Linked DNA regions of Homo sapiens: all the other regions are linked to region 1. The links are contacts of gene promoters, found by promoter capture Hi-C in human tissues and cell types (Jung and others, 2019). All regions are on one chromosome and are shown on one strand. The core of a region is centred on a gene start or on the middle of the fragment in contact, and the rest is flanking DNA. Distances in the headings are between cores, read along the strand shown. Region 1 holds the start of YWHAQ (tyrosine 3-monooxygenase/tryptophan 5-monooxygenase activation protein theta). Region 2 has its middle 32 kb from the start of LINC01814. Region 3 overlaps NOL10 (nucleolar protein 10).

The links. The method cuts DNA at HindIII sites, captures the fragments that hold promoters and counts their contacts. A contact is called where the count stands out against the background at its distance.
Region 2: a fragment that was not itself captured here is called in contact with the fragment with the promoter of YWHAQ in region 1 in 1 of the 25 tissues and cell types used here (aorta).
Region 3: a fragment that was not itself captured here is called in contact with the fragment with the promoter of YWHAQ in region 1 in 1 of the 25 tissues and cell types used here (small bowel).

Annotation. Positions count from the first base shown.
Region 1 is chr2:9,629,016-9,633,934 of GRCh38, reverse strand. It overlaps YWHAQ (tyrosine 3-monooxygenase/tryptophan 5-monooxygenase activation protein theta), which reads left to right and starts at 2,938. Exons shown (of 6, transcript NM_006826.4): 1 at 2,938-2,994; 2 at 3,401-3,776. The coding sequence starts at 3,483. RefSeq lists silencers at 2,617-2,786, 2,837-2,936, 3,137-3,486 and enhancers at 3,607-3,706, 3,450-4,352. The HindIII fragment of the contact is 8,846 bases long and covers 1-4,300 here.
Region 2 is chr2:8,549,413-8,554,331 of GRCh38, reverse strand. No RefSeq gene overlaps it. Among named protein-coding and RNA genes, the nearest start is that of LINC01814, 32 kb to the left of the region's middle. The HindIII fragment of the contact is 3,310 bases long and covers 241-3,550 here.
Region 3 is chr2:10,635,989-10,640,907 of GRCh38, reverse strand. All of the region lies in intron 13 of NOL10 (nucleolar protein 10), which reads left to right. Among named protein-coding and RNA genes, the nearest start is that of NOL10, 52 kb to the left of the region's middle. The HindIII fragment of the contact is 3,986 bases long and covers 363-4,348 here.

The DNA of each region.
Region 1 (4,919 bases), core at 1,689-4,188:
CCATCACACCCAGCTAATTTTTATGTTTTTTGTAGAGACAGGTTTTTGACATGTTGCCTACACTGGTCTGGAACTCTTGGGCTCAAGCAATCCACCCACCCCGACCTCCCAAAGTGTTGGGATTACAGACATGAGCCACTGTGCCCAGCTGGGATTATTTTTATAGATTACAGGTAGAGAGAATTGAGTTTCAGAGAAGATCAAGGTATCCAAGGTCAAATCACATATAAATAGCAGGGCTGAATTTAGGGTCTTCTGGCTCCATGTTAATGTGCTCCTTTTTGTTCCAGGAGCTTCTTCATACCAGGTAACTTAGAAAAAATAATAAGAACTTCATAAATAAAGTAATAATTTCTCAGTACTCCCTTTGCTAGCTGTCTGTTCCTTGCACTTCTTCCCAGTATGTTGGATGTGATGCTTAACAGGTTTCACATTTATTAGGGTGAAGCTCCTAGAAGACAGAGGCTGGTCTGATCCATCCTAGGATCTCTACAGCATCTAGCAGAGATCTGGGGAGACTTGGTGAGGCAGCCTCAGCAGTGGTTAAAAAGATGGGCTTTGGCACCCAAACTGCATGGGGTCCATATCCAAGGTTCTGCCGCTCTCTAGCTGTGTGGCCCTGTACGTCATGCTTGACCACCCTGTGCCTTAATTTCCTTGTCTGTGAAATAGAGATAGTGAGTATAATAACACCTACTTTGTAGTTGCATTAAGCAGATTGGATAAGTTAATTCTTGCAAAAGACTTAAAATAGTGCTTGACATATGCAATCACTCAACACAGGTTAGCTCTTTCTGTGTCCAGGGACTTCAAGTTCCCAGAGCCTTGTTTCTCTCCAACCCGAGTTCTTTCAGGCACAGAAGCCTTTAGCTATGTAGAGGGTCCTCTGAATCTTCCTAAAATGCAATTTTATACTGTGTTATTGGTTGGAAGCAGTTTTTACCCATGATTCCAGATGATTGCAACTAGATGAGTTGGTGTTCAATAAATATTTGATTGAATGAAAGCAGAAATTTCAGAGACTAAGGTACAGAAAGCAGCAAAAACTTGCCCAAGGTCACTGGGGGAGACCACAGCACAGCCTAGACTTTCTGACAAAGAATTTAGTGTGCTTGCTCCTTCTGGTAGTCCCTCTCTACCACAGAGGTTCCATCCCCTGACAATTTCCTCTCCTGGGTCTCTATCCCCCATCCACCTCCACTGGCTTCTCCCCTTGCCCGGGTTGCCTCTAATTTTGGTGAGCTTGAAATTCACTGGTCATACAGAAGGCATTTTATCTGACCTTCCACATGCAAATTCTTTCCATTGGGATTTCTCGGTGTCCAGCTCCACCCCAGCCCACAGGGCCATAAACACTCATGTGTCTGTAGCGGGGCCCCAGGGATTCCAGAAATAACAGCAGGGCCCTCCATTAGAAGGCTGGAACATAGTAAGGCATTTCTGCATTAAGACACAGGCCCTTTCCAATCCAGGCCGCTCCTGTCTGTCAAAGCACAAAGCAACCTTCACAAGTCAGGACAGGGAGGGGCAGTCAAGAGGGAGTCTGAATTTCTGGAAAGTCGGCACCTTCTCCTCCCATCTGTCTGCACTCTCAAATCTCCCATTCTAGAGATTCTCCGGATTTGCTCCAGTCTCCACTCAGAATGGGAAATTCTTTATGATCCATTCTCCTTAGACCTGCTGGAATCGGGATCATAGCAGCGTGAACCCAGAGGGCAATTCTCATCTTAAGATGGCACAGGGACCACGCGCCAGACGGGCAGGGCAGCCACCCTACCTGGATGGAGTTAGGGAACTGGGGAAGTGCAAGGAGAGACAGGAGTGGTTTAAGAGGAAAGGGAGCTGCCAGGGATGACCCTGAATGGGAGGGGCCTGGGGGAATCTTTCTCGCTTCAGCAGGGTGTTCCCCAGGAGGAGAAAATCAGAAATCAACATCCAGGGAGAGGATTTCAGCTTTTCAAGTGACCTCTCACAAATAATACCAGAAACAAAAGCGTGTGCACATGTGACAACGATGTGAAAAATGATGTATTTAGGTGCATAACCTGGAAAGCCTAAAAGATACATAAAAATTGCTTTTTTTTTGCGGGGAGAGATGTTATGGGCAGGGTTTTTTTTTGCGGGGGTGGGAAGGGGTAGTAATAGGTGTTTTCCTGCAAATTGTGCTTAATGTCATTTCTCATTTTAAAGAAAACCACAATACTTGGCATTGTCACAGAAACTCCCCTGGATCTTCTGGGACCTACCTTTTCACAAGGGAATTTTTTGTTTTAGGATGCCCATCTGAAAACTTGAATTTATCATGTAAATGCCATACTGAAGACACCGTCTCCAGAATCAATTCTTCTTTAATGGGGATGCGGTTTGCTTAATTCGGAGCCCTAATGGCAACGTCATTAAGGTCTGGGTTTAGTGTCTTGGGATCCAAACCTTTGTCACGGATAGAAAGGTGGAGGAAAGAAAGGCCCCCGTGCTCTAAAACAGCTGAATATGTCACCCTCCGAAGTCCAGCCTCGGCCAGAGCCCGTGAGATGCAATGCACCATCCGCAGCGGGAGACGCAGCCGCCGCCTAGGAGGTCGTGCGCGCCTCTGGGTCTCGTGCCGCACCCAGAAGTGCCGGGGTGGCGGGGAGGCTGAGGGGAGTTGGTAACGGCATCGCCATGGCAACAGTGACGTCCTTTTACCCTGGATCTAATTGGAGGAAACCCCGTGGCCGAAGCCGCAGCCTGCCGGCCAACCGAACTTCCCCGTACCGACCCACCCTCCTAGCCTCCGCGTTCCCTCCCGCTCCGCCCCCCTCGCCCCCTTCCGCGCGCTCGGTCCTCATTGGCCAGCGGCGCGCTGGGGGCGGGACTCTCGGGAGAAGCTCGGCGCATCATTGGGCGGTGGACCGCCCCTCGGCCCCGGGGTAGGCTGACACGGGAGGGTCCTCAGCTAAAGCCAAAAGCAGATCAAAGTGGTGGGACTCGCGTCGCGGCCGCGGAGACGTGAAGGTGAGCGCCTGGGTCGGCCCGCGGGCTTCCTCCGGCCGCGCTCGGATTGAGGGCCGGGCGGAGGTGCCGCCCTTGAGAGCAGCCGGTTGTCGATGCCGCTCCCCTCAGGGACGGCTCCGGGCGGGAAGGTGCGGGGCCAACGGTCGCTTCCATCTTGGGCCGGCCGGGCGGGGGTGGCGGGAGCGGCCGCGGCTCGGGCTCCCTGCGCGCGGGGCCTCCGCGCCGCCCCCGCCTCCTCCAGCCGCGGGCCGCGGCCTCCCCGGGTGCCCAGCGGGGGAGGGGGCGGGGGAGAGGGAAATTCAAGCGGCCGCGTGTGCGGGAGACAAAAGCGGGCGGCGGGCCGCATTGTCTGACGGCGCTCCCTCTCTGCTTTTTGTTCTCGCCTCGCCGCCCCGCCCCTCCGCAGCTCTCGAGGCTCCTCCCGCTGCGGGTCGGCGCTCGCCCTCGCTCTCCTCGCCCTCCGCCCCGGCCCCGGCCCCGCGCCCGCCATGGAGAAGACTGAGCTGATCCAGAAGGCCAAGCTGGCCGAGCAGGCCGAGCGCTACGACGACATGGCCACCTGCATGAAGGCAGTGACCGAGCAGGGCGCCGAGCTGTCCAACGAGGAGCGCAACCTGCTCTCCGTGGCCTACAAGAACGTGGTCGGGGGCCGCAGGTCCGCCTGGAGGGTCATCTCTAGCATCGAGCAGAAGACCGACACCTCCGACAAGAAGTTGCAGCTGATTAAGGACTATCGGGAGAAAGTGGAGTCCGAGCTGAGATCCATCTGCACCACGGTGCTGGTGAGTCCTCGGCGCGGGGAGCAGGGGAGGCCTTTTGTGAGATGCTTTTCATTGAGAGTTTCGCGGGCACGGAAACAAACGTGAGCCGGGGCTTGCCGGACTGTCTGCTGGGGTGGAGGGTTTTAGGTGAGCCCTGACTTCCCTACTGTGTCCCTCCGGTTGTTGAGACTCAAGAAGCCGCTTTTCCAAGGATAAGTCCTTTTTTTTCGCCCCAGATGCTGGGTAGCTACCAAACGATGGAACTTGGAAACATCCAAGTAGGTCTCTGCGAGACTGAAAGGCGTTTTTAAGTTTCTTGTGCGGGGAGACTGCGTCCTGAGATCTGTGAGCCCTTTAAATGTATTCAGTCGGTTCACAAGCTTCAGGCAGTTGAAAGAAGGCGCAGGCACCTTTTTGTTACAGACAATGTAGTAGGGATTTTTTCCCAAACCCAGTAATGGAAATTTACTTAGAAAATCTGAACAGATACTTTATTTTTCAAGTAAGAGTATCTGTTGTGCTCCCCCCCACCCCCCATAAACAGGAGAGGAGGGGAGTTCGGGAAATGTGAAAAGGACACAGCTGTATCTGAAGAACACAATGTCCTGGTAAATTTCAACATTTAATAACATTTCCTTGCTGTTGCACACCTGTGCTTAAACACTAGTGTTGAAGTGAATTCGTTTCCAGTGTGGAGCAGACAAGGAAAGCTTTCCAGGTTTTGAACTGTCCAGTCTTAGCAAGGACGATTGTTGGGTGGAGTAGGTGGCTGCTGTGATTCACCCTTATTAGTGAGAGAGAACATTTTTAGCTTTGTCATTCCATGGATCTTTTGATCCGTAGGATAAGTTTTTAAAACTGAAATACCAGCATTATATCCAGGAGTGTTTTTAAATGTTTCAGTGCTGCCAAGAGTCATTTCTATGAATAAAATGGGAAATAATCTCATATGGTTTGCCTTTTAAGTGTCACTTTTACAAGAGGCCTACTTATTTTTGATGTGTTTGTGCACATCATATTTTAGGTGGGCTTTGATAGACAAGCATACTAGACTGGGGATTTTTCAAAAGGGAATGGAAGAAATAATTTCTCCCTGGCCTCCTCCCCCACCCCCACCCCCCAAGCCGCCTTTCTTCATCTCATCAGAATGGTGGGGCAGGGAAT
Region 2 (4,919 bases), core at 646-3,145, 1.1 Mb after region 1:
TCTACACTGGATGCTGGGTTTGGGATTTAGAGATCAGCTGTGGAGTAGGCTGACCTCTTACCAATGCCCTGGGAAAATGCGGTTCAAATTAATCGTCATTCCCTGGGCTGTTGGGAGCTGCTTGCAGGGAATATCTCCCTGGAGGTCTCTTTTTTGCTTTGCCCTGAACTTTAAGACCCTCAGAACTTTCTGTAAGAGGCTGGCCTTTTAGAGCTGAGAGGGACTTCTGTAACCTAAACTAGGTTAACCAGACTTGGATATTTGGCAGACATTTTCTTGAAAATAAATGAAGTAAGCCTGTGGCTTCAGGAAAAATAACTGATAGTATCTGTTGCCATACAATTAGACCTTTCGTGTGAAAATTAAAATTTTAGAAAACTTGTATCCATTGCTGTGAGCTTGATAGCTTCCTAACACCTCCGGACTTTTCTGATGGAATTCATGATCATATTAATGCACTGGCTGTGTAATGAAATGTGTTGACGTTTGATAGATCACACGTCAGTGAATCAATATTTGCCAAATGACCAATACATTTATTGCAAAATCATGAGTGGGTAAACAAATGATCTATTCAAAGTGCAGGATAGCTAATAGATTTTAATGTAGTCATATAAAAAAAATAGGTGAGATGGGTTCTCATTCAACAGTGCAGCTAACCTATGAGAAACTATCATGATTTGAATTTTGGTATAGTATGGAAGAGGAATAGCCACAATTGTCTGAAAAGTCTATTACAGACATGTCCCTCTTTTCTAGCTACATATTTGTTTCGGGCTGAATTTTCTTCACATGCCTCAGCTAAAGTGATCTAATGGCCCAGGCTGAGGGCAGAAGCAGATCTGACAACCTGGCTGTTTTCTAAGTCAGACACCCAGGAGCTTTGAACAGGCATAAATTATTGCCATTCTTCTCACTGATATTTTTGTTTTGAAAAGTATAGTGGCTGGGGCACGGTGGCTCACGCTTGTAATCCCAGCACTTTGGGAGGCCGAGGCAGATGGATTACTTGAGGTCAGTAGTTCGAGACCAGCCTGGCCAACATGATGAAACCCTGTCTTTACTAAAAACACAAAAATTAGCTGGGCATGGTTGTGGGCGCCTGTAACCCCAGCTACTGGAGAGGCTGAGGCAGGAGAATCGCTTGAAACCGTGAGGCAGAGGTTGCAGTGAGCTGACATTGGGCCACTGCCACTCCAGCCTGGGTGACAGAGCAAGACTCTGTCTCAAAAAAAAAAAAAAAAAAAAAAAAAGAAAGAAAGAAAATGTAGTTATTTTTCTTAAAATATGAAATTTATGTTTACATGTCATGAATTATTGTTATTTTTGATACAAGTTGATACATATTTTAAAATTTTCTCAGTTTTAATTTGTAAAACAGCAAATGCCATCAAATCTAAACTCACATGAACAAAAGCTTTTGAGGATGCTGAATAATTTTTAAGAGGGCAAAGTGGTCCTGAGGCCAAAAAATCTGAGAGAGGCTGCTTTTCAGAAAAACCTACCTTAGTTTAAACAGTTAAGAGACCTCTGCACAGGCACCTGGTTGGTGAGGCCTATGCCAGGTGCAAGGGCGGCCCCCCGGCTGTTACCTGTGAGCTTTCACCAGGTCTGACTTCTGCCTTTTAGGCAAATGACCTGGATCCTGTGGGGCATGACTCGGAGACCACTGGGCATGTCTCCTCTTCGGCGTGCTATTTAAAAGCAAATGAAATGGTACCAGCGTGTATTTCTGAACGAGTGTGAAAAGAGAACGTCAGAATAGAAAGTTCAACGGTAACTGTGCAATGAGTAATGTGGGTGTTCTCTAATGGGGACCAGGAAAAGGGAAACTTGTCGGGAAGACGGGGTGTATGCTGATGTCAGGAGGTCTTGTGTGAGGCTGCTGAGGCCCTCCCAGATCTGCTTCACATCCGCTTCTCACATCTGCATCTGAGGCCCCGCTGTCTCACCCCCGAGTGTGGAAAAGGGGGACTCGGCTGCACCCTCCCTGTGCTCGCCCCCATTGTTCTCTACACCCTCTGTGCGTGTGCTGCTGAGTTTATAGTCCGGGATTGTGGGTGGAAAGACAGCTTTGTATTTCTGAATGTTAAGAAGATAGAGTAAAGCCACTTCAGTGTATTCTTTTTTTTTTCCCGCAAAGGTATATCCATGGACAATTTTCACCTTTGTCTTTCCTGGGATTATGTGTATATGCCCTCTGTCCCCACCCTGTTCTGGATTCAGAGATGAATTGGACTTGTCAAGAAAGTGCTCAAAGTCTCGTTGGGAACTAGATAGAAAGATCGAAAACTACACAGGGGTCTGAGGGGATGTGATGAGTCATCTTCCAGACAGTGACTGCAGTGGGCGTCTAGAGAGGGCTGTGCCCTGACGGTGGTGTGGTGGGGTAGTGAGAACGGATCCGGGGAGAAGGAGATTTGGGGGAGGGAGAAAGTAGTCACATGGGGCTGCATAGAAGCAGGTGTTCAGAGGGAAGGGAATTGAGAACTGCTCCCCAGGAGAGCTGGAAGGCTAAGTCCAGGTGACCCATACGGAGTCACCAGGTAGTGAAGACAAGAGCAGGGTGCAGGCATGGGGAGGCAAACCCAGATGATTTTCTGAGCAGTTGGCTTGTGGTCATGAGTGTTTTGATTTCACTGATCCCGCTGAACACACACTGCCTCTTGCCAAGTCCAGCCTTGAAGAGTTGGAGTCATCTGGAAAAATTCATAATTAAGGGAGGGCATGAACTTGACCTTGAAGGGCCACCAGGATTTGGGTAAGAAGAATGGGAAAAGCATTTGAGGGTTAGGAAAGGGGTAGATGAAGGCTTAGAAGTGGGAAGGTGCCAGGCATGTGGACCGGGGGACTGGAGCCAGGGGGTGGTGTGGGGAGTGGGCCGGGCTGTGAAGCTGAAGGCCCTGCAGGCCAGACTCAAGCATGGTCCTTGCCTGTTGGCTGTGGGAGCCACGGATGGTCTTTGAACAGCAATTAGGACTGTATGACAGGGCCCTTATCATGACACCTGGGAGTGACTGAAGGAGCAGTGGAAACGCCAGGACCATTAGGGTTTCTCTTCATTGAGGGCAGTCAAAGAGAAAAGGAGAGATGAAAAAAATCACTGCTTTAGAGGAATTGGGGGCTGACTGGAATCGTATGGCAAGGGAGCGGAGGAGTGAGGGATGGTGCCAAGTTTTCGGCCTGACACCAGCGAAATACAAATACGCTTGTGTTTCTTTACATAGCCGAGCGCGCAGATGATCTTTAAGACGTGCTCGTCTGATTTGGCACTTGGATTCTGGGAGGAACAGGAGGAAGAAATCTCTCAGACTGGGAATCAAGTTTTAGCTCCCCTTGGGGCTATTATTATTACCTAAGGAACACAGTCAGGCTCCTGGGTGAAGAATCAAACTAAGGACAGTGGTGTCTGTGACCTGGGCTCCTCCATGGGCCCGTGTGGCCGGCAGCCTCTAGGACTGCCTGGTGACCCCCACTGCTGTTGTCACAGCCTCTCATCGTGCCCATCCCTGGAGCGTGGGCTGGATCTCAGGACTTGCTTCTCGTGGATAGACCACAGACTACAGCAAAGGTGACAATATGCCGCTTCCGTGATGAGGCCACATGTCTTGCTCACTGTCACTCATGCCTTTGCTTGGTCACTCACCCTGAAGGAAGTCACTGGCCTCGGGACAGGCCCCCATGTAAGGAATCGAGGTCTCCAGCCAACAGCTATGTGAGTGAGCTTGGAACCAAATCCTACCCCAAGCAGGCCCCGAGATGACCACAGGTTGTCAGCTTGATTGCAGCTTGTGAGATGCCCGGAGCCAGGGGGACCAGCTGGCCACTCCCAGGTCCCCGGCCCACAGGGACTATGACATAATCTACTTGTGTTGCGTTAGGCTGCTGAACTTGGGGAAATTCATTGCACAGCTATAGATAGCCGACACATCCAAACTCTCCTGGTGGTGTTGAAGAGCACTGGCCCCGAAGCCAGATGCCTGTGTGCAAATCCTGGCTCTGCCATTTACAAGCTGCACAACCTTAAGTAAATTAGTTGGTTCTATGTGCCTCAGTCCCTTCACCTGTAAAATGGGAATAAGAATAACGCCTGTGTCATGAGGTGACTGTGAGGATTAAATAAGGTAGCCCCTGCACATCGCTTGGCATCGTGTTAGCACTCAGTCAGTATCAGCTCCCATCCCCACGATTACTATTGTCTACCCTTGAAGGCCAGCCAAGGGCCCATCCCACCTATAGCTTCTTCTTACTGCCCCAGCACCTGCTGGCCTCTCCTTGGCACTGTACACTCTGGTTCTCCATTAAAAACTCTTGAATTTGTTCTCTGAGGGTCTCAGATGTGTCACCTCTTCTCTTCCCAACTGTGTTAGTCCATTTTGCATTGCTGTAAGGGAAGACCTGATGCTGGGTAATTTACAAAGAAAAGAGGTGTATTTGGCTTACCGTTCTGCTGGCTGTACAAGCATGGGAGCTGGCATATCTGCTTTAGGCAAGAACATCAGGAAGCTGCCACTCATGGCAGAAGGTGAAGGGGAGCAGGTGCGTCACATGGTGAGACAGGGAACAAGAGAGCGGGGAAGGCCCTAGCTAGACTTTAACCAGCAGATCTTGCGGTAACTCATTACCACCGGAAGGGTACCAAGCCATTCATGAGGGCCCCCATGACACAAACACCCCCCTCCAGGCCCCACCTCCAGCACTGGGGATCACATTTCAACATGAGATTTGGAAGGGACACACATCCAAACCATATCACCAGCTCTGAAGGGTCTCCAGGAAGGCTCGGCAGAGTGTTTGACGCAGAATGAGAGGGTGGAGTTAAAGTGGGCAGATGATGAGAGAGACATCATTAGCTGTGAGCCCACGGAGGCCAGGGCCAGGTGGAGATACTGCTTGCTGCTTGTGAGGGCCTAGACTGT
Region 3 (4,919 bases), core at 1,106-3,605, 1.0 Mb before region 1:
GTATTTTATATACAAATTGGTTCCTGGTTTCTTCAGTTAACCTTGGAAATATTAATTCTAAGGTACTGCAATTACCTAAAACATTTTTAGTTGCCTCTATTATATGTCATTGGCTGGTTTATGACATGTCTATTATCTTAGAACTGTAAGAGACCCATTGTTTACTTCTGATTCTCTGGATCAGTTTCTTAGGGTGGGCGTTTTTGTTCCAAGTAATGGTGACTTTAATTAGCATGAGTATGAGGGGCTGGTGATGAGAAGAAGTATGAAGTATGAAGTGTGAGGGGCTGGATGATAGCCAGGTGATGAGAAATTGCCTTCTTGACAAATGTTAGCTTATCTTATAAGACCTTTTTAGTTTCAACTTTCTACCTGAGATTTAACAGAAAGCTGTGAAAAAAACATCCAGAGAGCCCTCTCCTAGGTGAGCTGCATATGGGGACAGTGTGAGCAGAAGTTGCTTTTGCTAAGCGAAGCATTATGCTGAAACTTGGACTTCAGTGTTCCTTTCTGACCTACCTTTCTGCCCTGCTCCCTCCCACAGTACTGAGTGATATTTTATAGCACCACTTGTCTTTACTTGGAAACTGCTCTTTGTAAACTCCTTCAAAGCAAAGGGAGAGCCCAGGGGTCTGAAAGCCTGCCATTTTTCATAAGATTTTATCAAACGTACCAAGTTGACGTTTGGCAGGAAGGTTCATTTGAGGCCTATAGAACCAAAGAAATGTGTGTTTAATGTATGATCCATGCCAAGTTTAGGAAGCCTGGACTGTGATTTGTATTAACATCTTATAAATCAGGTTTGAAAACTTTTTCCCTCCCTCTTTGGGGCATACTGAAGATGAAGGCAACTTAGTGTTCTTTTAGCTTGTTAATTTTTGCCTATCTGATATCATCTTTCTTGAGTAATTGAAATCTTTATAAACTAATGCAGTTCCTGATACACCACCTTCTGGCACTTAGATATCTCTGTAGCCAGCTTGTCCTTTGAGACCAAATGGGTTGTCTGCAGCCCCTGTCCCATTTTCTCAGTTCTTTCCTTATTTTTTATTTTTATTTTTATTTTTTTAATTCTCTCAGAGACCAGGTTCTATTGTTTTGTTTGTTTGTTTTCTCCAGGGTCTAATTCGTCTGCAGCTTCAGAGACTAATGCCAAGAATAATTTTTCAAGCTTGCTTTTTCCTCTGAAACATAATTTAATCTTAGGTTAGTTCTTTATAATTAACATCCTTGGCAACTATGTAGACTTCAGAGGGAATCCAAGTCCCCTATGGCACCCAACCCAAAACCTTTCTGCTTAATGGTGTTTCTGTTGGAAATGCTCCTGAATTCCGAGCCCCTAGCATATCAGGGCACTCCTGCAGCCACTCATTGCTTGGTGGTGGTGGTTGGGGTGTGAGTGATTGCTTGCTGCTTGGTAATGTGGATGTGTAAACTTGAGGAAAAATGTAGGAGGAAAACTATTTGTTTGGGAAGCTGTTTGATTTAGATGGAGTCTCGCTCTGTCGCCCAGGCTGGAGTGCAATGGCAGGATCTCGGCTCACTGCAAGCTCTGCCTCCCGGCTTCACGCCATTCTCCTGTCTCAGCCTCCCCAGCAGCTGGGACTATAGGCGCACGCTGCCACGCCCAGCTAATTTTTTGTATTTTTAGTAGAGACGGGATTTCACTGTGTTAGCCAGGATAGTCTTGATCTCCTGACCTTGTGATCCGCCTGCCTCGGCCTCCCAAAGTGCTGGGATTACAGGTGTGAGCCACCGCGCCTGGCCCAAGCTGTTTGATTTAGAAGAATAAAAGTAATTCAGTTGGCCAGGCATGGTGGCTCACGCCTGTAATCCTAGCACTTTGGGAGGCTGAGATGGGCAGATCACTTAAGGGCAGGAGTTTGAGACCAGCCTAGCAAACATAGTGAAACCCCATCTCTACTGAAAGTACAAAAATTAACCAGGCGTGGTGGTGTGTGCCTGTAGTCCCAACTACTCAGGAGGCTGAGGCAGGAGAATCGCTTGAACCTGGAAGGCAGAGGGTGCAGTGAGCCGAGACCACACCAGTGCACTCCAGCCTGGGCAACGGAGCAAGAATCTGTCTCAAAAAAAAAAAAAAAAAAAAAAAAAAAAGGCCAGGCACGGTGGCTCAAACGCCTGTAATCCCAGCACTTTGGGAGGCCAAGGCGGGCGGATCACGAGTTCAGGAGTTCAAGACCAACCTGGCCAACATGGTGAAATCCCGTCTCTACTAAAGAGACAAAAAATCAGCCGGGGGTCATTGTGGGCACCTGTAATCCCAGCTACTTGGGAGGCTGAGGCAGGAGAATTGCTTGAACCTGGGAAGCGGAGGTTGCAGTGAGCTGAAATCATGCCATTGCACTCCAGCCTGGGTGACAGGGTGAGACTCTATCTCAAAAAAAAAAAAAAAAAAAAAAAAAAGGGAATTCAGCTATAAGGGTATGTGCTTTGTTTTTGTTTTTTTCTTTTTTTAATGTCACTATTTAAGATGTTATAAAGAATAAATACTGCACCCAGCTTTCAAGAATGGCAGTTAGGTACTGTTACGTTACGTTACGTTACGTTACGTTACGTCACGTCACGTCACGTCACGTCACGTCACGTTACGTTATTTTTGAATGAGACAGGGTCTTGCTCTGTCACCCTGTCTGGAGTGCAGTGACGTGATCATAACTCACTGCAGCTTCATCCTTTGGGGCTCTAGCATCCTCCCGCCTCAGCTTTGTGAGTAGGTAGGACTACAGGCATGTGCCACCAAGCCCAGCTAATTTTTATGCTGTTTTTTTGTAGAGAGAGGATCTCACTGTGTTGCCAAGGCTGGTCTCAAACTCCTGGCCTCAAGCGATCCTCCCACGTTGGCCTCCCAAAGTGTTGGGATTACAGGTGTAAGTCACTGCACCTGGCCAGTTATTTTATTTTCAAACATTTTCTTAAGAAACTCCTATATTATTTCTATTAAAATATTTTGACTGTTTAAAATAAAACACTGATTAAATATTTTAACATTTACCATTTAATTTAAAATTTGGAAAGTACTCTTGGAGCCTGCAAATGAGGCGGTTAAAAACATGAAGAACCCTTCTAACTTGCACTAGTGCTTCTGCGTCTGTTCAGAATCGCACTGGAGCTTATCCAGCAGTTCATAAACCCACAAAACTCTGTCTTCGCAAATAGAGGACACTATGTGTTAAGAAGCATAAGGCCTCAAAAATACATACCACACAGCTTCACAGAGGCACGCAAACCAAAGGAAATGCACAATTGGAAGCCACATTTTTTGGAATGTAATAAAAGGTTGTTTAGTGAATGTTTCTAAGCCTCTCAGCTGAGTAGGTAGCACACTCCCCGCAGAGGTGAGGCCTTCTGACGCCATCACAGGGTTCAACGCTGGTATCTCCTCAGGGCTTCAGTCACTGGGCTAGGGCAGACATCTGTGCTCCTGCACCTGTAAAGATGGCAAGGCAGTAGGTGCTGCAGAATTTTAGGGGTTGTCAGGGAGATGCTTTTGAAATCATTATAGCTTTGGGAAGTCAGTTTTAGGGAAATGGCATGGACATTTTTCTAGTAAATGTATGAATATTTGCAGTCTGGCAGATTTTTTTCTTGCTCAATGAAGAAATACAAATAGATATTATAGTCTTTTTCTCAGGTTTTTTTCTGTAAGGGTTTTTGGTTTTAGTGTGTGTGTGTGTTTTTTTTTTTTTTTTTTTTTTTTTGAGACAGTGTCTTGCTCCGTGGCCCAGATTAGAGTGCAGTAGCACAATCAACCTCCATCTCCTGGGTCAAGCGATTCTCTTACCTCAGCCTCTCAAGTAGCTGGGATTGCAGGTACGCACCACCACACCTGACTAATTTTTGTATTTTTAGTAGACATGGGGTTTTGCTGTGTTGGCCAGGCTGGTCTTGAATTCCTGGCCTCAAGTGATCCACCCATCTGGGCCTCCCAAGGTGCTAGGATTACAGGCGTGAGCTACCACACCCAGCCTCTAAGGGTTTTGTGACAAAAACAAATTTAGGTGCAAACAATTTTAACTTCTGTCTGTGGTGAATTGAATTTGTTAGTCTAGTTCTAAACTCCATGACTATGTCAATGACTGTTGTCTGTTAGAGAGGTACTTATGGATACTTTTTAATCATCGCTATGTGATCTTCTTCCTATATAGATGGTATCTTTTTTCAAGTTCAGTATTTGAAACATTACTGTTCTGGTGTGTTTTGGCATAATTTTCCAAAGTCTTAAGAACACAGCCTTACTCCTCAGCTTCATTAAGAAGATACTTTTTTTTTTTTTCTTTGATTGAAGGTCGCACTCTGTCTCCCAGGGTGGAGTGCATTGGTGTGATCATGGCTCACTGCAGCGTCACAACTTTCTGGGCTCAGGTGATTTTCCTACCTCAGCCTCTCGAGTATCTGGGACTACAGGTATATGCCGCCACACCCAGCTAATTTTGTTTGGTGTTTTTTTTTTTTTTTTTTTTTTTTTTGGTTTTTTGTAGAGACAGGGTTTCACTATGTTGCCCAGGCTGGTCGCCAACTCCTGGGCTCAAGCAGTCTTCCTGTCTCGGCCTCTTAGAGTGTTGGGATTGGGATTACAGGTGTAAGCCACTGTGCCCGGCCAAAGATGCCATATTTTATCAGCTATCCAGAGTATATGTTGTTTTAGTTTAACGGTAGATTTGACAGTATCTTGAAAATAAGTGTCAAAAATTCCTGGATGGGCCAGGCATGGTGGCTCATGCCTGTAATCCCAGCACTTTGGGAGGCCGAGGCGGGTAGATCACTTGAGGCCAAGAGCTTGAGACTAGCCTGGCCAACAAGGCGAAACCCTGTCTCTACTAAAATACAAAAAAATAGCTGAGCATGCTTTGGCACGTGCCTGTAATCCCAGCTACTTGGGAGGCTGAGGCATGAGAATA